5 separate regions of the Homo sapiens genome follow, and all the other regions are linked to region 5. Evidence: promoter capture Hi-C in human tissues and cell types (Jung and others, 2019). All regions are on one chromosome and are shown on one strand. Each heading gives the region's core, a stretch centred on a gene start or on the middle of the fragment in contact. The rest is flanking DNA. Distances are from core to core; before and after follow the strand shown.

Region 1 (4,679 bases), core at 313-2,812, 1.1 Mb after region 5:
ATTGCGATTGGGTGAGACCCAGTAAGGATGGAAAGTGTAGAGGAGACAGGAATCCACGGCTTTGGAAAAAGGAAGGACAAAACTCACCAAACCAGAGCAGGGCAGGAAGTAACAATGAGAAACTGAAAAAGAAACGGAATGGAAAGCTATGAGACAGGATGAAATTTGGCATGGGGTCTGCCCAGGCATGTCCATGCCAGGTGCCCAGGGCTGCTTCCACGACGTGGGTCCCCTGCCAGATTTGTGGTGAGTGTGGCCAGGTGTGCATGCTCCGACGTGTGTGCAGTGGGCCAGTTAGCAAGAAGCTGTCACAGGTGTGACTTTGTGACATGTGTGGGTGGTCAGTTTCTTCTATGTCTGATTTGGTTTGTGTCTCTGAATGTCAGTTTCTTTCCTTTATTTTTATTTTTAAGACGGAGTTTGCTCTTGTTGCCCAGGCTAGAGTGCAATGGCACTATCTCGGCTCACTGCAACCTCCGCCTCCCGGGTTCAAGCAGTTCTCCTGCCTCAGCCTCCCAAGTAGCTGGGATTACAGGCATGCGCCACAACGCCCGGCTAATTTTGTATTTTTAGTAGAGATGGGGTTTCATCATGTTGGTCAGGCTGGTCTCGAATTCCTGACCTCAGGCAGTCCACGCACCTTGGCCTCCCAAAGTGCTGGGATTACAGGCATGAGCCACCGTGTCGGGCGAATGTCACTTTCTGATAGTTTTAATGTGTTAGCTGTGAAATTGTGTGAGTGCATTTGTGTATGTCCCTGTGGGAGTGTGATTTGGATTTGGCCGTGTATCCAGGTATCCCTGTAACAGGTGTCTGTGTGTATGTGTGTGTCCCCTGTGCCTATCAGCAAGTTTGTGTTTCCTGATAAGCACTCCGCCTATGTCTGTGTGGTTGCACCACCGTGTGTGTGGTGTGGGTGCCTGTTCGGTAGGGTTGTTTGTGAACACAGTTTGTGGGCCCAGGTGTGATCATCAGTGTGGGTGTTTCTGCAACTGTGTGTGGCCCTGTCATTGTGTCCGTCTGCTTGTCCAGGGGACCCTGTTAGTGAGTCTGTGCATTTCCGTCTGGGTGTGTGTAAGTGTGAGCCCCATCAGTATGTGAGTGTGTGTGCTCATGCCCCTGTCCATGGTGTGGATTTGCGAGACTGTGGCCTTGTGTCTGTGAGTACATCCTCTGGGCTCTGCCTGCACGTGACTTTGTGGACCCTGGAACGCCCGTCGGTCGGTCTGTGTACGCATCGCTGGGGGTGTGGATCTGTGGGTCCCAGTCAGTGTGTGTGTCCGACTGTCCCGGTGTCTGGGCGATCTCCCCACACCCCGCCGCACAGCGCCTGGGTCCTCCTTGCCTTGGGCTAGGCCCTGCCCCGTCCCCCGCTGCAGGGAAACCCCCGGCGCGGAGGTAGGGGGGGGCGCGGCGCGCGCCTGCAAGTCCTGACTTGTCCGCGGCGGGCGGGCGGGGCCGTAGCGTCACGCGGGGGCGGGGCGTGGGACCCGCCGGGCGGGGGCGGGGCGGGGCGGGGCGGGGCGGCTTTGGAGCGGGCCCGGGATCCGCCGGGCGGCCTGAGACGCGGCGCGAGCCACATGCGAGCGGGCGCCTGGCGGCGGCGGCGGCGGCACCAGCGATCCCAGCAGCGGCCACGACGCGGACGCGCCTGCGGCCCGGGGAGCAGCAGCAGCCACAGCCACAGCAGCCGCCACTGCAGTTAGAGCGGCAGCAGCAGCGACAGCCACAGCAGCAGCCGCCGCGGAGAGCGGCGCTCGGCGGGCGCGCCCTCCTGAAGGAAGCCGCCCGCCCCCCACCGCCGCCCCCTCCGGCGTGTTCATGCCCCCGGGGTGAGTGTGCGCGCCCCGAATCCTCTCCGGCGGCGATCGGCCAGGCCGGGTGGACTCCCTGGAGGAGGTGACAGGAGTGCAGGCGGAGAGCAGTGTGGGCGCCCTGCCTCCCCACACCGCGCCTCTCCAAACCCCGCGAGGGACCCTGGGCCAGGGTCGCCGGGTGAGAGGCGGCTCGGCGTTGGGGCGCCGGTCTGGGCGCACAGGTGCCTCGGCGGTCTGGCGGGTTTGTTTACAAACAATGGGGTGCGGGCTCGGCAGCGCCCCCTGGCGGCCAGTGCGGCCCCGGGGAAGAGGGTCGACCCCAGGGGTGCCCCAGCCCCCAAAGTCCGGGAGGGGCGGGGGGGCGGCACGGAGGGGCGGCCACACCCAGGGCGCGCGCCCGCTGGGGGCGGCGACGGGGGGCGGCTCGCGGGCCGTGGAGTCTGCGGCTCCTGCGGGCGGGGGCTGCGCCCCAGCAACAGCCGGTTATTGGCCCCGCGCTCGCCTGGCGGGCGGGGCGGGCGCACGTGGCGGCGGTGGGGGGGGCTGTGACAGCGGAGGGGGGTGTCTGGGACCGCCGTGGGAGCGCGCGTGTGCGGGGTTGTGGATCTGCAGGTGTCTCGCCTGGGTGTGTGCGCGTGTCTGGCTCCGAGTTTGTGCTGGGTTCTGCAGGGAGTGGTGGTGTCGATCCAGAGGAATGTTGGGGTTTCTGACCCGTCGGGGTGTCTGCGTGAGTCCCCGCGCCTGTTTGTGTGGGGTTCTGTCTGTGGGTGCCCTGCTTGTGGGGTGGGTGGACCTGCGTGTGTTGTCGGTGAGAGTTGTCTGTGTGTGCTGTTCCGGGATGATACTGGGGGTCTGTGGTGCCTGCGTGTGCTGGGGTGTGGAGGTTGTAGTGTGTGTGTGTTGCTGGAGTGAGCTGTTTGTGTGTTTATGTGTGTGTCTTGCCCGAGCGTGCGATATGTGTGCTTGTGTCTTGCCTGTGTGTTTCTGTCTTGGCTGAGGCCGTCTCTGTATCTCCGGGGCATGTGTCTTTTGCCCAGCGTTTGTGATGCTGCGCCTGCTAAATGCAAATGTCTGTTTTCTGTCCAGGTGTCTGTGTGAGTTGTCAGGTGTGAGTGTGTGTGTGTATGTATGTGTGTGGTGGGGGGTTGTTTCAGTCTGGGTTTGGCTTGTGTGTCTGGCATCAGCGTCTGGGATTTGAGGACCCAGGATCTGTGGGGTCTATGCAGTGTAGACGGTGGGTGTTGCTGGCAGCCTCTGGATGGGGTTGTGTCTGAGCCTGTGTGTGTGTGTGTGTGTTGGGTCTGAGGGGCTTGTCACTGTGATCGGCTGGCTCATGTGTGTCATGTGGGCTGCGTGTGTGTAGTGTTTATGTCAGTCACGTGAGACCAGTGTTTTCTGTGGGTGCGCTAGGTGTGTGTGCTGCTGGGCTGTGTGGGATTAGAGTTAGCTGTAGGGTGTGTGTGTGTGTGTGTTGCTGACAGTTGGTGATGATGTTTGAGGGTTGCGTGAGGAGGGTGGGTTGGTGTCTGGTGGTGTGTTGAGGTCTGATGGCATGTGTCTGTGTGTGCCTGATCTACGTGTGTCCTGAGAGTTGGTGACATGTGGGTGTGTTTTGGGGGTGTTGATGTATGTGTGTCCGTGGGTGTCTGTTTTGTGTTGATATGTGAGTCCAGAGGTGTGCAGGTCTTATCTCTGGAGTGAGTGTGTGTGTGTGGAGAGGGGCATGTTTGGGAACTGAGGCAGTGCCTAGCTTGTGTGTGTGTGTTTGTGTTTGCAAAGGCTGCATTGTGTTTGCATGTGCCCCTGGGCATATCAACAGTGGGTCAGTGTGTGAGACTTTGACAGTTTGGATGTGTGGGGATGGATTGTGCCAGCCAGTGTGCGCAGTATGTAGAGTGCTTGTGATGGTCTGTCTGGATGCTCCTGCTTTGGTCGGGGGTGTGTGTGTATTGTGTGTACTGAGTAGTGATGTCCGAGACTGGGGCCATCTCAGTGTTTGTGTGCAAGTGGGAGGTGGGGTGGGCGGTCAGGCTGGCCAGTCCCGTGTGAGTCCTTGTGTGTGTGCTGTGGGGGCCTCGCTGTGCCTCACTGCCCTCCCTGTGTGCCCGTCGCTGTGTTGGGAAAGTTGTCCCCACCAGCCCATGCTGTGAGTCCCAAGTGGAGTGAGTTTGTGTTGTGGGACTGTCACAGCCCTCATACACACACCTGCTAGACCCCTCCATCCGTCCTGTGTGAGCCCTGTCCTTGCTGTGAGAGCCGTCCTGTGCCCCCTGTCCCTCCTGTGTGCCCATCACCGTATGCACGGGAGGCTCTCCAGGCCAGCCAGGACCCGGTGGTGTCATCCCCCGGCTGGGCGTGTCTCTGTGGGGCCGTCACCCCCTCCGCATGCACACACACCTCCACTCTTCTCCATCTGGGTCCTAACCCCGGGTAGGCTGGAGGTACAGTGGGCCCTGGTACTTCCCTGCTGACCTGCTCCTCCTCCCGTGTCCCGCAGGCCCCAGGGAGCGCCATGGCCCGCGCACGCCAGGAGGGCAGCTCCCCGGAGCCCGTAGAGGGCCTGGCCCGCGACGGCCCGCGCCCCTTCCCGCTCGGCCGCCTGGTGCCCTCGGCAGTGTCCTGCGGCCTCTGCGAGCCCGGCCTGGCTGCCGCCCCCGCCGCCCCCACCCTGCTGCCCGCTGCCTACCTCTGCGCCCCCACCGCCCCACCCGCCGTCACCGCCGCCCTGGGGGGTTCCCGCTGGCCTGGGGGTCCCCGCAGCCGGCCCCGAGGCCCGCGCCCGGACGGTGAGTGCCCGCCCCGCCCCCGGGGTGATAGGAGCCGGGAAGAGAGAGGGCTGGAGACTCGGAGGAACTGGAGAAG
Region 2 (5,233 bases), core at 34-2,533, 1.6 Mb before region 5:
CGCAAAGGAAAGAGGAACTGATTCAGGAGACGGTTAAGAAGCAGAGTAGTTAGACTTGTGGAGTTTGCAGACGGAGAATCCCAGCACTAGCACTCATGGAGATGGTCCTGGCCAGAGGTTCCCACGGGAGGGCAAGTGAGGGAAGGCAGTGTTGGAGGACGGCGTCTGAGCCTCAGCAGGAATCAAATTTCCCTGGGCTGAGCCCAGCCCATCTCTGATCTCCCCTTGTTTCTCTCCTCTCCACTCCCTCACTCTCTGCTCTTTTCTGCCCTGTTCTGGTCTCTCTGGTTCCACCGGTCATACTTCCCCCAAATCTGAAATAACGAATTCCATGGGGAAAGGGGAGGTCCCACGGAGACAGCTCCGCACCCTGTCCGTCTTGCATCTGGGCTCTGCGTTGTCAGCAGTGCCACCAGGTGGCTGTCAGCCGAATGCCATGGGCCTTTGTTCAAGTGCCTCCCAGAACTTTTTTATTTGTTTGAGACGGGGTCTCGCTCAGCCGCCCAGGCTGAAGTATGGTGGCATGATCACAGCTCACTGCAGCCTCAAACTCCTGGGCTCAAGTCATCCTCCCACCTCTATCTGGGATCACAGGCACACGCCACCATGCCAGGCTAATTTTTGTTTTTTTGTTTTTGAGACGGAGTCTCGCTCTGTCTCCCAGGCTGGAGTGCAGTGGTGTGATCTCGGCTTACTGCAAGCTCCGCCTCCCGGGTTGATGCCATTCTCCTGCCTCAGCCTCCCGAGTAGCTGGGACTACGGGCACCCACCACCACGCCTGGCTAATTTTTTTTTGTATTTTTAGTGCAGACGGGGTTTCACCATGGTCTGGATCTCCTGACCTAGTGATCCGCCCGCCTCGGCCTTCCAAAGTGCTGGGATTACAGGCGTGAGCCACCGCGCCTGGCCTAATTTTTGTATTTTTAGTAGAGATACAAAAATACAAAAGATACCGGGAGGCGGAGCTTGCAGTGAGCCAAGATCCCGCCACTGCACTCCAGCCTGGGCGACAGAGCGAGACTCCGTCTCAAAAAAAAAAAAAAAAATACAAAAGATACACCATGTTGGCCAGGCTAGTCTCGAACTCCTGACCTCAGGTGATCCACCCACCTCAGCCTCCCAAAGTGCTGAGATTACAGATGTGAGCCACCACACTTGGCCAACACTTAATTCTAACATCTTTTCCTCAATGAAACTCTCCCGTCCCAGGCAGAATGTCAAGACTTGGCCCTGGAAAGCTCTGGTTTCCCATCATGGGTCTGCTGTTTGCTGGGTGGCCTTGGGGAGTCTGCACTTGTTTCCCACCCAGGAAGGGCTCGGTGTGCTGCAGTGCAGTGCTCTGGCACGGTGCCGGTTACACAGTAGGTCCCTAGTAAATGGTTGTTACTGAGTCCCTACTGTGTACCAGGCACTGCTGCAGGTGCTGCGAATACAGCAGGGAACAAACGGAAATCTGGCCCAGTGGAGCCGACACCATCCCCACCGTTAGCCTTCCTCTGTGTTCGGAGGCAACCTTGTCCTTCCCTCCCATCATAGATGGCCTATCGTGGCTGGGTGTCAGTGGCAATCCACCCACACACATCCACAGTCCTGGCAGGGTTGCCCCAGCACCAGGGGATGTCTGGATTTTCAGAATCACACCTCACTTTCCTTTCTGTACCAGCCGCCTTGGTCTCCATGCACAAGGGCAGACCTGCCCCTGACCCCAGCCCCTTTCTCAACCCCAGCTCTGCTCTGTGTATTCCCATCCACCTATCTAGATTTCATTCTGTTCTTTCTCCATCGTCCCTCAACCTACCGCCATTGGTTTCTAGTGGCTGCTGTAACAAGTCATCACAAATGTAGTGGTTTAAAGCAACACGAATGTATTTTCACAGTGCTGGGGGTCCAGAGTCTAAATGGGTGCATGGTGTGTAGTTCCTCTGGGAAACTCTAGGGGAGAGGCTATGTCCTTCTTTAGCTCTAGAGGCCGAAGCCGCCTGTGTTCCTTGGCTTGTGGCCCCCTCATCTTCAAAGCCAGCAGCACAGTGTCTCTCAGTCCATTCTTCCATAGGCACATCTCCCTCTGACTCCTGCCTCCCTGAAGAACCCCTGTGGTCACCTGGGGCTCACGTGGATAAGCCAGGGTAACCTCTTTATCTTCATCACATCTGCAAAGTCCCTTTGCCATGTAAGGTCACATTGACAGGGTCCTGGATCAGAGTGTGGGCATGTTTGGGGGCCGTTTTTCTGTCTACCCCCCCACACACATAGCACACATCCTTCCTAATTCTTCCTTTCCTTTTGGTCCAAAGCTGAGGTCTCCTGTATTCTTTCCCAGGCACAGACTCCTGTCCCAGGCATCTAAGGAAAGGGGTTGGGGGCCGGGCACAGTGGCTCACTCCTGTAATCACAGCACTTTAGGAGGCCAAGGTGGGCAGATCACCTGAGGTCAGGAGTTCAAGACCAGCCCGGCTAACATGGTGAAACCCCGTCTCTACTAAAAATACAAAAATTAGCTGGGCATGGTGGTGCACGCCTGTAATCCCAGCTACTCGGGAGGCTGAGGTGGGAGAATTGCTTGAACCCGGGAGGCGGAGGTTGTAGTGAGCCAAGATCGCACCACCACACTCCAGCCTGGGTGGCAGAGCAAGACTCCATCTCAAAAAAAAAAAAAAAAAAAAAAAAAAAAAAACTGGGACTTGGAGTGGCACAAGAATCACAGATGGAGGTAAGGTAGTAGAGCTGACCGAAGGCTGGGGTGACAGCAAAGAACCCTGGTTCTCACAGATGGGGGTGGGATATGCCCACCTGAATTCAGATGATTCCGCATCTGAATCCCAAGCGGGTCTTCCTCCGGGTTCCCAGGGCTGTGAAGGCGGCCGTGTTGTTTGAAACTCAAGGGTAAATGTTGGGGCAGGCAGGCAGGAAGGGAAGGGACTGGCGGCTCTGCCAGCACTTTCCTTGGTGACCTCAAGGCAGCGCTTCTCTGGAGCTGTGTCCTGCCTGGGTGAACTACAGATGGTCACAGCCACCCAGCCCTGAGCACAGGCCCAGGCATACCCTCCTCCTTTCCCTGGAAATGCAACACTCCCTCAGTTTGGGTTCCTCCCTGCTTCCTCCACCGCCACCAGCACCATCAGCTTCTTTGGTAAGGAAACTCTCCCCTTTGGCAAATGTGGTAATTCCGGGATCAGAGCTCGTAATAGTTTGCATTTGTGAGAAACTTCCCAAGTTCTAGTATTTGTGGCTTTTTGTTTTTTGTTTTTTGCCTCAAACTCCTGGGCTTAAGCAATCCTCCTGCCTTGGCCTCCGAAAGTACTGGGATTACAGGTGTGAGCCATCATGCCTGGCCTGTCACTGTTAACCTGGACAGACCCTGTGGTTTTGGTGCAAATTTAACACTTTGCTCAAATTGTGATGCTGTCCTCTCTGAGTTCCAGTTCGGGCCTCAGGCTCTTGGCCTGGACCTTCTCCCAGTCTTCTCTAAGCCACCTGGCCTCCAGCCTCTACCCCTACGGTTCATCCCCCACACCCATAAAGTCCGCCTGTGGCTCCCTCAATATAACGCCCGAACCGTTAGCATGGTATGTATGGGTCTGCCAGATTCTCCCGCCTGTCACGTGGCCCACAGTCCCCAAGACCACCCTGCGGCTCAGTGATGAGCTAAGACTCACAGAGCTCAGCAAAGCTTTCTACTCACAGTCACGGTCACGGTTTATTATGGAGAAATGATACAGACTGAAAACAGCAAAGGGGAGAGATGCAAAAGCCCCAAGGGAGACCAGGCACGAGCTTCCAGCTCTCCTCTGCAGGTAGAGAGAGTCCCGCGGACAGTGCTCAGTTCTCCCTGCAACAGCGTGTGGTAACGCTTACGGAGCAGTGGCGGCCCGGGTTGTGGGGAGGACATGGCGCACCCGTGTGGCTGAACTGAGGTCTGCTGACTCCAGCCCCTCCAGAGGTCGTGCTGATACTGTATGACCCAAAGCCCCCACTCTAGGTCACAGCGTCAACATGGACTCTCTAGAGTGGCCTGGGGCCCCAGGTAAACAAAGGCGCTCTTATCTGGCAGCACATTTCAAGAACATAGAGATTCTCCTGGAGCTGGTCAAGGGCCATTTTCTCTCTTTGGAATGTGCAGATTTGAACAGCCCAGGCTTGCCAAGTCACTCCTTCACACATAAACATCTCCCTTCAGAAGCACCAGATCACTTAGCACCCAGAGGCATGTCTGCTGTGTGGGCCTCCCTGTCTTCACACAGGCCTTTCCTCCCGCGTGGACGGCGCCTCTCCCCCGCCATCCTTTCCCTGGCTGATGCTGCATCTGCAACGCTCAGCTTCTCCCTGGAACCTGCTCCCACAGCATGTGGCCCGGCCCTGTGCCTGCCCTGAGCCCTGGTTGTAGAGCTGACATTTGACTCTGGCTGCCTTGAGGGCAGGGACCGTGGCTTAACCAGCCACTCTGGGCTTCACTTTCCTCATTTGTCAAGTGGATCTGCCCCAAAGTTTGCTTTGAGGAAACGGTGAGTAATGGTAGGTCTCCTTTCTTTCTTTTTTAGATGGGGTCTCACTCTGTTGCCCAGGCTGGAGTGAGTGGCACAATCACAGCTCACTGCAGCCTCCACCTCCCTGGGCTCCAGTGATCCTCCCATCTCAGCCTCCCAGGTAGCTGCGACTACAGGCGCCTGCCACCACGGCCAACTCATTTTTGTGTTTTTTGTGTAGAGACAGCATCTCGCTATGTTGGCCAGGCTGTTCTCGAGTTCCTGGGCTCAAGCGATCCCCCCACCTCAGCCTCCCAAAGTGCTGGGATTACAGGCGTGAGCCACCTCACCTGGCCATATCTAAACTGCGTGGATCAGGGCTGGATCAGTATGGGTTCACCATTGTGAATAGATCCCTGGCACCTGAGTATTGGAAACCAATGTGGCACTTAATAAATGGTGAACTGTTGGCCGGGCGCAGTGGCTCATGCCTGTAATCCCAACACTTTGGGAGGCCGAGGCAAGCGGATCACCTGAGGTCAGGAGTTCAAGACCAGCCTGGCCAACATGGAGAAACCCCATCTCTACTAAAAATACAAAAATTAGCCGGGCGTGGTGGCATGCGCCTGTAATCCCAGCTACTTGGAAGCTGAGGCGAGAGAATCGCTTGAACCCGGGAAGCGGAGGTTGCAGTGAGCCGAGATCATGCCATTCCACTCCAGCCTGGGCAACAGAGCGAGACTCCCGTCTCAAAAAAAAAAAAAAAAAAA
Region 3 (5,166 bases), core at 213-2,712, 1.2 Mb after region 5:
GTACCCAATCTGTACCTGGCCCTGTGCTGGGCCCTTGGAAATGTGGGGTTACTGTGAACCTCATTCTTGTCTGCCCTTAAGGAACCCACAGGTGACTAGAAATTAACGAATAGGTTGTATCAGTTCTTTTTAAGAAATTATTATTATTATTATTTTAGACAGAGTCTTACTCTGTCACGTAGGCTGGAGTGCAATGGCATGATCTCAGCTCACTGCAACCTCTGCCTCCTGGGTTCAAGCGATTCTCCTGCCTCAGCCTCCTGAGTAGTTGGGATTACAGGTGTGCGCCACCACACCCAGCTAATTTTTGTGTTTTTAGTAGAGATGGGGTTTTACCATGTTGGCCAGGCTGGTCTTGAACTACTGACCTCAGGTGATCCACCTGTCTTGGCCTCCCAAAGTGCTGGGATTACAGGCGTGAGCCACTGCGCCTGGCTAAGAAATTCTTTAGGTGGTATATGAACAAATCTCAAGAATCTTAGGCCCAGATCTCTTATTTATTTGTTTATTTTTATTTTTACATATTTTTTAAGACGGAGTCTCGCTCTTTCACCCAGGCCGGAGTGCAGTGGCACGATTTCAGCTCACTGCAAGCTCTGCCTCCCGGGTTCATGCCATTCTCCTGCCTCAGCCTCCTGAGTAGCTGGGACTACAGGCGCCTGCCACCACGCCTGGCTTATTTTTTTGTAGTTTTTTTTTTTTTTTTTTTTTAGTAGAGACGGGGTTTCACCATGTTAGCCCAGATGGTCTAAATCTCCTGACCTCGTGATCCGCCCGCCTCGTCCTCCCAAAGTGCTGGGATTACAGGCATGAGCCACTGTGCCCGGCCAACGGGCTGATTTTTATATTTTTAGTGGAGACAGGGTTTTACCATGTTGGCCAGGCTGGTCTCGAACTCCTGATCTCAAGTGATCTGCCTGCCTTGTCCTCCCAAAGTAATGAGATTACAGGTATGAGCCACTGCGCCCGGCCTGAAACCCTGTCTCTACAAAAAATACAAAAATTAGCTGGGCATGGTGGTGCATGCTTGTAGTCCCATCTACTTGGGAGGCTGACGTGGGAAGATTGCTTGAGCCCAGGAGATCAAGGCTGCATTGAACCAATGATCACACCACTGCACTCCAGCCTGGGTGACAGAGCAAGACCCTGTGTAGAAATAAATAAATAAATAATTATAAACAAAGAGAAGTCTTAGTTCATAAGTTAAATTATTAGACTTTCTCCTCTGGAGTGATAGAAATCGGTCCTCTGATGAAAACCATGATCTTTGCAGCTTTAAACCATCTGAAGCTTAGTTGGCATGAGAAGGTGGTTAGAAAACTCTTCATTGCTGAGAAGCAAATTCCAGAGGTTCATCTGCCAGGAGTAACTTGGATCTGAGGGATAGATACCTTTGCTCAAGAATGCAAATTTTCAGAGCTCGTGGGAGTGGAAGAATAGATACTCAGGCAAAAAAAATGGCATCTTTGTCTCCACAAGCTTCCTTTTAGCAGGCTGGGTTTTTTCACGGTCAGCCTGTTTGAAGCTTTACAGAAATGTTCTGCCTAAGTGGTTTGCATGCTTGGACAAACCCCAGAGTGGACACTGCACACTTGGGGGCGAAGGCATTCGTTTCATATTAGGGGACTTTGGAATTTCACTCCCTGGGATTTTTGTATTGCTTTCTCTTTGTGTTGGGATGAGTCCTATTTTTTTTTTTTTTTTGCCAGAATTCCTTCGGTCTTTCCATGAGCCCTTATTCTCTATCCAGATGTCTTTGGTTAGGTTTTTGAAATGCTACCATTTCCTTCACTTGATATTGGAAGGACCGTATCGGCCTTGTGTCTTTGTGTTTGGGTAGGTTTTACTCCTAAGCATTTATTCTGGGCAAGGTTCCTGCTAAGTGCTTGTGTTACATGGCCTCATGGGATTCTCCCATGACACCATCCTGGGGACTCCATGGTTGCCTGTGCTGCACAGTTATGGAGACTGGGGTGCAGAGTGTTTAAGGAATTTGCCCAAAGTCTTGGTACCTCATTCTGGCATTTCTTGGAATACTGATTCATGAAGTCTGTTTTATGTATGTATATCTTATTTTTCCCTACTCGATTATACATTTCAGGGTGGGCGTTGTTTTGTCAGTTGACCTGTTTAGCAAATTACTCTTTTTGACATAATTTGTAGTTGTCAAATAATTTGTAGAGGTTAAGAGCTGGTCTTTGCATCCAAAAGTACTGGACTTAGTTTCTAGTTCTGCTTCTTCCTGCTGTGACCCCATGGGCAAATTCCTTCTTGTCTCTGAGCCTGTTTAGGCCTTGGTGAGGAGTGTGGAGGCCTGCAAGCCCAGATTCCAGCTCTCTGCTGGGAAATTATTAAATAACTGCTTGGGGACCTTGCAGCCTCTCCTCACATTGCTGAGTTGTCCCACTTGGAAGTTCTTGTTTTCTTTTTCTTTTTTTTTGAGACGAAGTCTCAATCTGTCACCCAGGCTGGAGTGCAATGGCATGGTCTCAGCTTACTGCAACCTCCACCTCATGGGTTCAAGCAATTCTCCTGCCTCAGTCTCCCAAGTAGCTGGGACTACAGGCGTGTGCCACCATGCCCGGCTAATTTTTTTTTTTTTTTTCGAGACAGAGTCTTGCTCTGTTGCCCAGGCTGGAGTGCAGTGGTGCGATCGCTCATTGCAACCTCTGCCTCCCAGGTTCAAGTGATTCTCCTGCCTCAGCCTCCTGAGTAGCTGGGATTACAGTCGTGCGCCACCACGCCCAGCTAATTTTTGTATTTTTAGTAGAGATGGGGTTTCTCCACGTTGGTCAGGCTGGTCTCGAACTCCTGATCTAGTGATCCGCCCGCCTCAGCCTCCCAAAGTGCTGGGATTACTGGCATGAGCCACCGTACCTGGCCAGAACTTTTTTCTTTCTTAACTTTTTATTATGGAAAAAAAATTTTTTTTAGTTATTTATAGAGGCTGGGTGCAATGGCTCATGCCTCTAATCCCAGAACTTTGGGAGGCCAAGGCAGGAGAAGGCCAAGGCAGGCTTTAGTCCAAGAGTTCAAGACCAGCCTGGGCAACATAGAGAGACCCTGTCTTTAAATTATTTGTGGAGACGGGGTCTAACTGTGTTGCCCAGGCTGGTCTCTAACTCCTGGGCTCAAGCAGTCTGACAGGGTCTCACTCTGTTGCCCAGGCTGGAGGGCAGTGGTGCAATCATAGCTCACTGCAGCCTCGACCTCCTGGCTGAATCGATCCTCTCGCCTTAGCCTCTTGAGTAGCTGGGACTACAAGCACATGCTGCCAGGCTAAGTTTTGTATTTATTGTAGAGATGGGGTTTCCTCATGTTGCCCAGGCTGGTCTCAAATTCCAGGGCTCAAGTGATCCGCCTGTTGGCCTCCCAAAATGCTGGGATTACAGGCATGAGCCACTGTGTCTGGCCTATACCTGTAGATTCTTCAGTATGAATCTCTAACTTTATGATTATTTAAAAACATAACTACAGGCCGCGTGTGTTGGCTCACACCTGTAATCCCAGCACTTTGGGAGGCTGAGGCAGGCGGATCACCTGAGGTCAGGAGTTCGAGACCAGCCTGGCCAACATGGCGAAACCCTGTTTCTACTAAAAATACAAAAATTATCTGGACGCGGTGGCAGGTGTCAGTAATCCCAGTACTCAGGAGGCTGAGGAATGAGAATCACTTGAACCCAGGAGGCGAAGGTTGCAGTGAGCCGAAATCACGCCACTGCACTCCAGCCTGGGCGACAGAGTAAGATCCCCGTCTCAAAAGAAAAGACAATAAAACAAAACAAAAAACCTTTCTACAAAACTCATTTCTAACAAGATTAACAATTAATATCTCAAATACCCAGGCTGGGTTCAGATGGCTCCAATTTCTCCTATCGTCACATCCACCAGTAGGTGTCTTCGTATCTAGATGCCAGCAGTGGGTAGACTGTCTTATGTTGAAGTGAGGGTGTAGGGTACAGGGTACAGATGCTGATGCCTGGACTTCTCTTTGCCAGTTTTGTGTCTCACTTGGGTGGTTGCCGTGGCGTAGGCACGTTACCATGGAAATGGCATGATGTCACAGAGCAGGCTATGATGACACCTGAGAATGCTGAAGAAAAGGAGACAGAGCACATTTGTTCTTGGTTTCTGGTTGATGAACCTAGGTAGTAAGGACACTGAAAAGCATGTGCAAGACCCAGAGGTTTATTTCAAGAATTTCCTGGCTCTGAAAATCCCTCCGTGAGGTTTCCCCTATGGCTGCTTCATTACGTCCTAACTCAAGGGAAGGTCTCGGGCCTTTCTTTGGCATGAGCCCTGAGCTGAATTTCTGAAGCAAAGGCCCTGCGCCTTCAATCCTAATAAACGACTAGTCCGCAGAATCGGACTTGGGGATCCTGGACTTCTGCATTTAGGCTGGTTGTTAAATATTTGAAGAGGCGGCGCCTCCTTGTAATTTTTGTGATTTTGTCCCTAGTTAATGGGTCATTCAGAGCCTACCCAGGCAATTTGTTGAGAGTCTGGGCAGTTAATGATCATAACCCTGACCTTCACATTAACCTAGCCGCCTCTTATCAAGGGCTCTCATGATCTTAAGGTAACCGCTGCTGTTCCCATGAGTTTCCATCTTTTGTGTTGTACTTTGCCTTTTTTTTTTTTTTTTTTTTTTTAAACTCTTGTAAACCAGGTTGATCCATAAACCCTGGGCCCCTTTCAGCTTTCGTCCAACCCTCTTGTCTAGAGAGCTGCCATGTTGCCAAGCTTCATTTCTGTAAGAAGCCTTTGTTCCTTCCCGGGGCTCAGCTCTCCCTACGCCTTTTTGTCTTGATTAGCCACTTGGTGGCTTCTGGTACTGCCTAGATTAGAGCTGAGGAAGGGGAGATGTTGCTTTTGTCAGTTTTGTCAGCAGGATGGCTTGGGAGAACAGTGTATGTGTGGTTGTGACCAAGTAGAAAGAACTTGTTGACCAGCAGTCAGCAGTGTCCGTCAGGGAGAGCTGGCTGCAGCTTTCTTTTTTTCTTTTTTTTTTTTTGAGACGGAGTTTCACTCTTGTTGCCCAGGCTGGAGTGTAGTGGCGTGATCTTGGCTCACTGCAACCTCCGCCTCCCAGGTTCAAGTGATTCTCCTGCCTCAGCCTCCCGAGTAGCTGGGTTTACAGGCGTGTTCTTCCAAGCCCGACTAATT
Region 4 (5,103 bases), core at 1,896-4,395, 1.3 Mb before region 5:
CAAAATACTCCCTGGCCTCTTCCCAGGAACACCTCTCTTCCAGACACTCCCGTTCCAGGTTCCCTGGTGTGAGCAGCTCCAGGTCCCAGTGGTTGGCTCTTGGAATCCGGGTATGGCTACTCAGGAAGCTCTGGGCCTCTGGGGGACCCAGGAAGACTTCTGGACCCAAAGACATGAGGGACAGAAAAATGGAGGGTCCCTAGGGCTGGAGTCATAGGGGGATGGAAAGCAGTGGGGTCCTGGAGGAAGGAGCAGGGGCTGGGAATCCAGATTCCTGGGTCTGAAGGAGGAAGGGGCTGGGTCCTGGACTCCTGGAAGAGGAAGGACTAGAAACATTCCTGAGTCAGGGGGAGGCCAACGCCAAGTGTCTGGATGCCACTTCCCCCAAACACTCACCTTGGTCTGTCTCCTCACTGGGTGAAGTATCCAGGCAGGTGGTTAATGCCATATATAGCAGCAGCAGAGAGGGGTGGCCCCTCATATTTTCCAGACACCTAGAACCAGGTTTGTTACAGCTGACAAGGGCCTTAGTCCCTGGGTAATGAGGCAGTGCCTCTCTGACTGGCCTCTGTGGTCCACGAATGGCAATAATAGCAGCCACTTACACAGCCTGTATTCTGTGCCAGATACTGTTTACCTATATAAACTCATTTTACTTTTTTTTTTTTTTGACATGGAGTCTCGCTCTGTCAGCCAGGCTGGAGTGCAGTGGCACAGTCTCAGCTCACTGCAACCTCTGTGTCCTGGGTTCAAGCGATTCTCGTGCCTCAGCCTACCAAGTAGCTGGGATTACAGGCATGCGCCACCACACCCGCTAATTTTCTTTTTTTTTTGAGACAGAGTCTCGCTCTGTCACCCAGGCTAGAGTGCATTGGTGTGATCTCCGCTCACTGCACACTCCACCCCCCAGGTTCATGCCATTCTCCTGCCTCAGCCTCCCGAGTAGCTGGGACTACAGGTGCCGGCCACCATGCCCGGCTAATTTTTTTGTATTTTTAGTAGAGATGGGGTTTCACTGTGTTAGTCAGGATGGTCTCGATCTCCTGACCTCGTGATCTGCCCGCCTCAGCCTCCCAAAGTGAATTTTCATATTTTTAGTAGAGATGGGGTTTCACCATGTTGGCCAGGCTGGTCTTGAATTCCTGACCTCAAGTGATCTGCCTGCCTCAGCCTCCCAAAGTGCTGGTGCTGGGATTACAGGCGTGAGCCACTGTGCCCGGCCTCAACTCATTTTACTTTTCACAGGAGTCATACAAAAATTAGCCAGGCGTGGTTGTGGGCGCCTGTAATCCCAACTACTTGGGAGGCTGAGCCAGAATAATCACTTGAAAGGGGAGACAGAGGTTGCAGTGAGCCGAGACTGTGCCACTGCACTCCAGCCTGGGTGACAGAGCGAGATTCCATGTCAAAAACAAAACAAAACAAAACTTTTCACAGGAGTTTTTTTTTTTTTTTTTTTTTAGACAGAGTCTCGCTCTGTCACCCAGGCTGGAGTGCAGTGGCGCTATCTCAGCTCACTGTGACCTCTGCCTCCTGGGTTCAAGCGATTCTCCTGACTCAGCCTCCCGGGTAGTTGAGATTACAGGTGCGCACCACCACGCCTGGCTAATTTTTTGTATTTTTAGTAGAGATGGGGTTTCACCATGTTGGCCAGGCTGGTCTCAAACTCCTGACCTCAAGTGATCCACCCGCCTCGGCCTCCCAAAGTGCTGGGATTACAGGTGTGAGCCACTGCGCCCGACCAGGAGTCCTATTATTATCCCCAGTATAGAGAACAGGAAACTGAGGCACAGAGAGGTAATATAGCTTGCCGAAGGTCACACAGTGTGCAAGTGTGAGAGCCAGGATTTCAGTGAAGGCAGTGTCCGCCAGAGAAGAAAGCAAGGAGCAGGCAGCTTATCTTTCTTTCCCCACTGTGTCTACAGCACCTGACACAGATGCTTATAAACATGTCCACTGGTGATCTGGAGTCTTCCCTTCCTGGTAATTTCCACTTGTGCCTCTTTCTGTGCTCATTGTCACATCCACCCACAGACAACAAAGATTACGAGAGAGGCAGAGGCAGGGGATTAGTTATATTATTGGGTCTAGGGACCTAAGTGGGCAGGGGCCCTGGACTCCTGGGCCTAGGAGCCCCAAACTTCTGGGTCTCGGAGGGGCGGGGAGCCAGGATGCCTGGGTCCCCAAGCCAGGCTCTTCCTCCAGGGACATTCACTTACCTGCCCAGAAATGTGAGCACTGCCCCTTCCTCTTTAATCGAGAACTCCTTGGCCAGCTACAGCCAGCTGTGAAAGGGGACAGGGAAGAGGGGAGGGGATAAGGAGGAGGGGCGCCCCACTCCCGGTAACCAGGCCTGATCCCCGTTTCTGGCAGGTGGGCGGAACTTGCCATTACCTGCCCTGGGCGGGACTCAGGTAAGGGACAAAGTATTTAAAGGGACCTTGGGATAAAGGACTTAAAGGCCAGAGCTCCATGAGGAAGCCAAGGTGTCGAATACCATGGGATACCTGGGGGATTAGATTCGACCCTCCTCCTCCCTCCCGACCCCTACCCGCTCTGGCTCTCCCCTGGGAGTTCGTCTGTCCGAGCTAGAAAAATTAATATCTAGGTCTCTAGGTATCTAGAAACTAGCGGGAACGATATGCCTTAGTCCCTGGGACAGCTGGGCAGTGCCGCAGTAAATCCCTGTTTCCTGAGAGCGACTTGAACGGCTTTGATTTTCAATTTCCCAATGGCTCTGTCTGTAAAATGGGAGCGTAGTTGTCTCTTCTCAATTGTTTTAAGATGCAGCAAGAAAAGTGGATGATATATTTGGGAAAGTGGGCTTCCCGATCTCTAGGGGAAGTGATTAGTCCTTAAATTTGGGCTTGGAGAGACTCAAAACCTGGGAACCAAGCAGGAAAAAACGATCTCCCTGGGAAATGCCTCGTACATAGTAAGCGTTCCCCATATTCCCACCAGTTTCAATATCCGGAACTTTCGATTAGCTACTCACGTTTCCGGAGAGAGAAAGAGAAGAGAGGACTTGAGCAAGCCAGGCGAGGCACTTCCGCAACTAGGGGCAGCTCTACTTCCGGTGCCTTCTGCTGGGCGGAAGTGGGCGGAGCGGAGGGGGAAAATAGTGCTCCTTTCCGGTGTCGGGGCACAGTTGAAGAAGCGACCGAGGGACTGGGAGTCGTTAGTGAGGTGAGTTCGAGGCGGTGCAGGAAGAGTGTTGCTGGGATCGCTTTCCTGCGGGCTAGAGGCCTGGGGTCTTGAGGGAGACTGGGGCAAGATTTTGGATTCCCGATTCCCTGTCAATCATTATTAATACAGCTGTCCGGGCGCCCCAAGTTTGAAGCTGAACTACACTCTGCTGGAGGTGGCCAACCGTCCATCGGGCAGTTCTCTCTCTCTTTGTCTCTCTCTCTCACTATAAACTCAGTCAAGTGGTAGCTAGCATCGGCCAGTTCTCCTGAGAGTTACAGTTCTGCTGTAGATGATGGCTATTTGCTGGTGGTCCCAAGGGAAGGAGTGGACTGGGATTGCTGGGGGTCTAAGGAGTGGGAGTTGAGGAGGGAGAACTCCTTTCCTGGCCTCAGTTTCTCAGACTGTGGTGGGACGGCGGGCGATACTAGATTGTGCAGTCATCCATCGCCACCTTCTCTTCACCTTTTTGACAGCCCCTTCCCTTTCGGGGTTGGTGCAGGGATTCACGTTTTCTTGTGTGGAGCTTCGGGGTCAGGCAGTCATGGATTCCCATTCTGATTGTGCTGCTAATTCTGTGAACTTGGGGCTTGAACGGTCCTTGAGGCAGTTTGATGTTAATGTTTTCTTACGAAAATGTTCAAACTTATATAAAAGTGAGAGAAGAATACAGGAATTCCTGTCACCCAAATCACCAATGATTATTTTTGCCATACTTGCTGTATTTTTTTAAACTTAAAGAGATTAAAACAAATCGTAGGCATCATGACACTTAAGGATTGTCAAAAGACAAAATTGCAACACATTTAGTGAGAAGATCTTAATTGGCATTTATTCGTGAATCTACAATCAAACAACATCTAATTATGGAAAATAGCGTGAGTGTTCCGATGAGCTGAGCAGAGGTTGTTTTCAGAGACAAAGGGCTGAGAAAATCAGAAACGGAAAACAAAAAGCTAGTTGATTAAATTGATTAACTTGATTAAATTTCTAAGTTAAAGGTTAAAGTAGAGGGGACTTCCTTTATCAGGTGGGCTAAAACTGGGTTGTTTGGGGATTTGGCTATTATCTCTCTCCTGATATCTCAGAAGATCAGATATCAACTTAGTTTTGGCTTGGAAGCATGGAACTTTAGCATGAGTGTCTCCATTTTGGTTTGGTCTGTTGAACCTAGTGCAGGAGCTCAATCCAAACCAATGACCTTCTATAAATTTTATCTAACAGGGTGCGTGTGTAAAAACCAGAAACATTGCTGATATGACCACAATACCATCATCACACTTTAAAAGAACAACCGTAATTCTAGACTACTATCCATTACGTGGTGCAGAGTCAAGTCCAGTGTAACTGTGGGTTTGTTGGAATCAGGATATAGTTAAGTAATTGCTATCGTCTTTTACATCTCTCTTAATTTAGAACTGTTCCCCCTTCCACTCCACTTTGGTTATTTCTTGGTGTAATCGATTCATTGAAGAAACTAATTCTAGTTCAGTTGATCATCCCACCATCTGAATTTGTCCCGTTTGCTTTTTTGTGGTCTCATTTTACCTGCTTCTGTTTTCTTTCTTTTTTTTTTTAAGTATTTAAAAATAGGCCAGACACAGTGGCTCATGCCTGTAATCCCAGCACTTTGGGAGGCCAAGGCGGGCGGATCATGAGATCAGGAGATCAAGACCATCCTGGCTAACACGGTGAAACCCCTTAGCCGGGCATGATGGCAGGCACCTGTAGTCCCAGCTACTCAGGAGGCTGAGGCAGGAGAATTGCGTGAACCCGGGAGGCAGAGCTTGCAGTGAGCCGAGATCACGCCACTGCACTCTAGCCTGGGCGACAGAGTGAGACTCTGTCTCAAAAAAAAAAAAGAAAAAATAGATAGAGACAAGGTGTCACTATGTTGCCCAGGCTGGTCTCAAACTC
Region 5 (4,216 bases), core at 1-2,500:
TCAAGAGGTTGGCACAGGCCAGGCACACTCACGCCTATAACCCCAGCACTTTGGGAGGCCGAGGCGGGAGGATCACCTGAGGTCAGGAGATCGAGACCAGCCTGGCCAACATGGTGAAACCCCATCTCTACTAAAAATACAAAATTAGCTGGGTGTGGTGGTGCACACCTGTAATCCCAGCTACTCGGGAGGCTGAGGCAGGAGAATCACTGGAATCCAGGAGGCAAAGGTTGCAATGAGCCAAGATCATGCCATTGCACTCCAGCCTGGGTGACAGAGAAAGACTCCGTCTCAAAAAAAAAAAAAAATTTGGCATAAAGGCAGGTGAGATGTCTCCTGATGGAGGAAGGGCATGGGTGCAGACTCCTGGGTCTCTCAGGGAGGAGACCGCTGGGGCCTGGATTCCTGAGATCCCCATTGGCTGGAGGGGTGGAGAGGGCCAAAGATGGACTCTTGGGTTCCTTGAATGAGGAGGACTAGCAATGTGGCTCCTCTCTCCCCAGAACCCTGACTCTGGGTTACATACAGGCCAGATAGTGAAAATTCAAGTTGAGACCCCACCCTGCACCCCGACATCAGGATTGAGGAGCTGCCCCCAGCAACAGGCATTCTTGACTCACACCACTCCTCTCCTGGGTTGAGGGGAGGAGGGGGACCTGGTGAGTCATCTGGTGACTCATCCCCACCCCCCCCCATCTCTAAGCACCAGGGAAACCCCAGCCCCTGGCTATGTCCACGAGGTCCTCACCCCACCCTGCTGCCAGACTGGTGACTGTTGGACATCTTCTGGAGGAAATGGATAGGATTCGCGCTGGGGGGAAGAGAGGCCCAAGAAGGAGTTAGCCTCCCAGGACTCTTTGGTGCCCAGGAACAGGGGACCTAGAGGTCTCCCAGATTTGGGGTGTTCTCATGCAATGCCCTGATCTCAGGGACCCCAGAGGACAGTGGACACCGCTGAGGGAAAAACTGCAGGAAGTTTTCCAGTGGAGGGCTCTGCTGGGACCCCAAAACTTTGCCGGGCCCCACCCCTTCCCATATCCCCACCTCAAGTGCTAAGAGATCACTTATTAAATTAAAAGGATTTCCAAGAGTCAGGGACGTCTCTCCCAGCCTGGGGGTGTCCTTCCCAAACTGCTACATTCCCAAGTAAATTAAGAAGTCCCAGCCCTGAATAACGGACTGGAAACTTACCGAGAGCCGCGAAAAAAGTCAGAGCTGGAGTCGGAGTCTTGTCCCTCGCTCGGGCCTCCGTGCCCCGCCCTTCTCCTCCCTCCTTTCACCCTCCCGAGGCCCCCGCCTCTCTCACCGCCTTCCTCCCTCCCTTGCTCTCCCCTCCAATCCAGAACCCTTTCTCTCTCGCTCGCTCTCCTTCTGCGTCTCTTCTCTCCCTCCTGCCCTCACTGTCTGGGCCTCCTTCTCTCTTGCTCCCGTTTCTCTTTCTCTCCTCCTCTCAATATATACTGACCCTTTTATAAACCCACCCTCACCGCACCCAGCTGAGGTCGGCTGCCAGTGGGAGGGCCCAGGCACTCCGGTTCCTCTTTCTTTGGGCCCCCACCCAATCCCTCCAGACAGACATCATCTGGGGCTCCCTCCCAGGGTTGAGATGAGAAACTCTTGGAATGGGGTTCTTGGGGGGGGCAAGCGTCAGGGGTGGGAGGGCCCGATTCTCAGGACCCTTGAGTTTTGAGGTCTTGCCCTGGGGCCGGATGTCTGCTTTCCCTGATGGAGCTTGGAGCTGGATAGGAGTCTGGGAAAAGAGGCCAGATTTCTGTGGCATGGACTTGAGATTGGGCTGGTGAAGTTGGCCCCGTGGTGGGGGGTCAGAGGATGGGAGATGAAATTTGTGAAACTCGGCAGGGCGTTGTGGCTCACGCCTGTAATCCCAGCACTTTGGGAGGCCGAGACGGGCAGATCATCTGAGGTCAGGAGTTCGAGACCAGCCTGGCCAACATGGTGGAAACCCGTCTCTATCAAAAATACAAAAATTAGCCGGGCGTGGTGGCGGGCGACTGTAATCCCAGCTACTTGGGAGGCTGAGCCATGAGAATCGCTTGAACGCGAGAGGTGGAGGCTGCAGTGAGTTGAGTTTGCACCACTGCCTTCCAACCTGGGGGACAAAGTGAGATTCTGTCGCAAAAAAAAAACAAAACAAAACAAAAAACAAACAAACAAAAAAAAAAACCTTGTGAAACTCTGGAAGCGGGGAGGAAGCGGAAGCTAAGAATCCCAGCGCCATCATTTCCTGGTTCAGTGACCTTGAGCCAATTATTTCACCCACCTGGGCTCCAGTATCTTAGTCTATGTTGAGAGTATAATAATGCTGACAAAATACTAATACTGATAATAATAATTCTGATACTTATGCTGAATGAATAAGGTAATACTGGCACACTCACACACCTAACCTGTTCCTTCCTTCATCAAACATTTATTGAACATGTACTCTGATCTGGGAGTTAATAATGAAAACAGACATGAGCCCTGCTGGTATTATGGAGCTTGTATTCTAGTAGAGGAAGACAGACAAGAGAAAACATCAATGATGAAGATAAATCTCAGATAAGGATAAGTGACTTGAAAAATAAATACAATAGGCTGGACGTGGTGGCTCATGCCTGTAATCTCAGCACTTTGGGAGGCCAAGGCTGGAGGATCACCTGAGGTCGAGAGTTCAAGACCAGCCTGGCCAACATGGTGAAACCCTGTCTCTACTAAAAATACAAAAATTAGCCAGGCATGGTAGTGGGCGCCTGTAACCCAGCTACTCAGGAGGCTGAGACAGGAGAATTGCTTGAACCCGGGAGGCGGAGGTTGCAGTAAGCTGAAATCACGCTACTGCACTCCATCCTGGGTGACAGAGCAAGACTCCATCTTAAAGAAAAAAAAAAATAAAAGAAGAAAAGAAAAATAAATACAATAATAAATCAAACAGAGTGATGGAGATAATGACAGAGTGCAGGGAAGACTACTTGAAACAGGAAAATCAGGGAAGGCCTCTTGGAGGAGGTAACATTTGAGCTGAAGACAGGAGTCATTTGAACGCTGGGGTTGGGGAGTGGTGGGGGGGCGTCGGGGGGAGAGGAAGTGCAAAAGCTCTTAAAGCTTTTGAGAACAAGCTCAGGTTGTTTAGGGAGCAGACAGAAGGGCCAGTGTGGCTGGAGCACAGGGAGACAGAGGGAGTGGTGAGAAGGGAAATCAAAGGGTGCCCTTGAAGACTAGGGGAGGGGCTTGGATTTCATTCTAAGTGCAGTGGAAAGCCATTAGGTTTTAACAGAGTGTAGTACCAAAGATTTTTATTTTTTTTTTGAGATGGAGTCTTGCTCTGTCATCCAGGCTGGAGTGCAGTGGCATGATCTCAGCTCACTGCAACCTCCACCTCCCGGTTCAAGCGATTCTCCTGCCTCAGCCTCCTGAGTAGCTGGGATTACAGGTGCCCGCCACCACGCCCAGCCAATTTTTGTATTTTTAGTAGAGACGGGGGTTTCTCCATGTTGGCCAGGCTGGCCTCGAACTCCTGACCTCCAGTGATCTGCCTGCCTTGGCCTCCCAAAATGATGGGATTACAGGCGTAAGACACTGTGCCTGGCCCCAAAGGTTTACTGTTAACTATTATTATTAATTTTGGGGATATTAAATTAGGGTCGGGGTGATGACTACTATGTACACGAGTCTCTTGGGAGGGGACCAGGTGCCCAGAACTCTGATAAATTGAGAGCAGGGGAATTCAAATCCTGGATCCAGGGAAGGGAACTGGATGATGGGATGTCTGGGTATCTGATGGGCCAGAGCTGGGTTTGGGATAGCTGTTGGTGATTCGGGCTCCCTGAGGGGGTGAGGGATGGACAGTTCAGTGCTTGGCTGGGTACCCCAAGACCTGGAAGCTGGAATACCAGTATAGCACAGACTCTAGAGCCACACTGGTTGGACTCAAAATCCAAGCTGTTTTACTCAATGGCTGTGTAATTTTTGGCAAGTTACTAATAACTTCTCTATGCCTCAGTCTCTTCATCTGAAAAATAGAGATAATAGTAAATACATTATAGGGCAGTTCTTAGGGTAGTGCTAGTCATATCAGGCATTGGGGCTCTGAGTGGAGTCAGTACTGGGGGACCCTGATTCAGGATCTCTAGGAGTTGGGGAAGGGGCAAATTCTTGGGTCCATTGGGTCTCAAGGCTAAAGTTGGGAATCCAAAATGAGGGTCCCTGGGGGAGA

What was found. Contacts are between HindIII fragments. The study calls those that stand out against the background at their distance.
Region 1: a contact is called between the fragment with the promoter of BBC3 here and the fragment with the promoter of EMP3 in region 5, in 1 of the 25 tissues and cell types used here (adrenal gland).
Region 2: a contact is called between a fragment that was not itself captured here and the fragment with the promoter of EMP3 in region 5, in 1 of the 25 tissues and cell types used here (aorta).
Region 3: a fragment that was not itself captured here is called in contact with the fragment with the promoter of EMP3 in region 5 in 1 of the 25 tissues and cell types used here (dorsolateral prefrontal cortex).
Region 4: the fragment with the promoter of NOSIP here is called in contact with the fragment with the promoter of EMP3 in region 5 in 1 of the 25 tissues and cell types used here (spleen).

The regions. Positions count from the first base shown.
Region 1 is chr19:47,228,082-47,232,760 of GRCh38, reverse strand. It overlaps BBC3 (BCL2 binding component 3), which reads left to right and starts at 1,562. Exons shown (of 4, transcript NM_014417.5): 1 at 1,562-1,832; 2 at 4,315-4,603. The coding sequence starts at 4,330. RefSeq lists enhancers at 26-295, 1-345, 1,055-1,174 and silencers at 1,315-1,544, 1,685-2,404, 4,265-4,679. The HindIII fragment of the contact is 48,720 bases long and covers 1-4,679 here.
Region 2 is chr19:49,912,168-49,917,400 of GRCh38, reverse strand. The region is part of intron 2 of NUP62 (nucleoporin 62); the gene reads left to right. It also overlaps a transcript of IL4I1 not described here. Among named protein-coding and RNA genes, the nearest start is that of ATF5, 14 kb to the left of the region's middle. RefSeq lists an enhancer at 4,130-4,981. The HindIII fragment of the contact is 9,177 bases long and covers 1-5,233 here.
Region 3 is chr19:47,099,308-47,104,473 of GRCh38, reverse strand. The region is part of intron 2 of ZC3H4 (zinc finger CCCH-type containing 4); the gene reads left to right. Among named protein-coding and RNA genes, the nearest start is that of ZC3H4, 12 kb to the left of the region's middle. The HindIII fragment of the contact is 3,344 bases long and covers 1-3,134 here.
Region 4 is chr19:49,578,598-49,583,700 of GRCh38, reverse strand. It overlaps NOSIP (nitric oxide synthase interacting protein), which reads left to right and starts at 3,145. Exons shown (of 9, transcript NM_001270960.2): 1 at 3,145-3,186. It overlaps PRRG2 (proline rich and Gla domain 2), which reads right to left and starts at 2,385. Exons shown (of 7, transcript NM_000951.3): 1 at 2,220-2,385; 2 at 397-494; 3 at 1-159. The coding sequence starts at 481. The HindIII fragment of the contact is 33,716 bases long and covers 1-5,103 here.
Region 5 is chr19:48,322,586-48,326,801 of GRCh38, reverse strand. EMP3 (epithelial membrane protein 3 (MAM blood group)) reads right to left here and starts at 1,250. Exons shown (of 5, transcript NM_001425.3): 1 at 1,192-1,250. LOC124904735 (a long non-coding RNA gene) reads right to left here. Exons shown (of 2, transcript XR_007067284.1): 2 at 3,280-4,012. RefSeq lists enhancers at 367-436, 727-776, 1,377-1,426 and a silencer at 2,004-2,235. The HindIII fragment of the contact is 22,631 bases long and covers 1-4,216 here.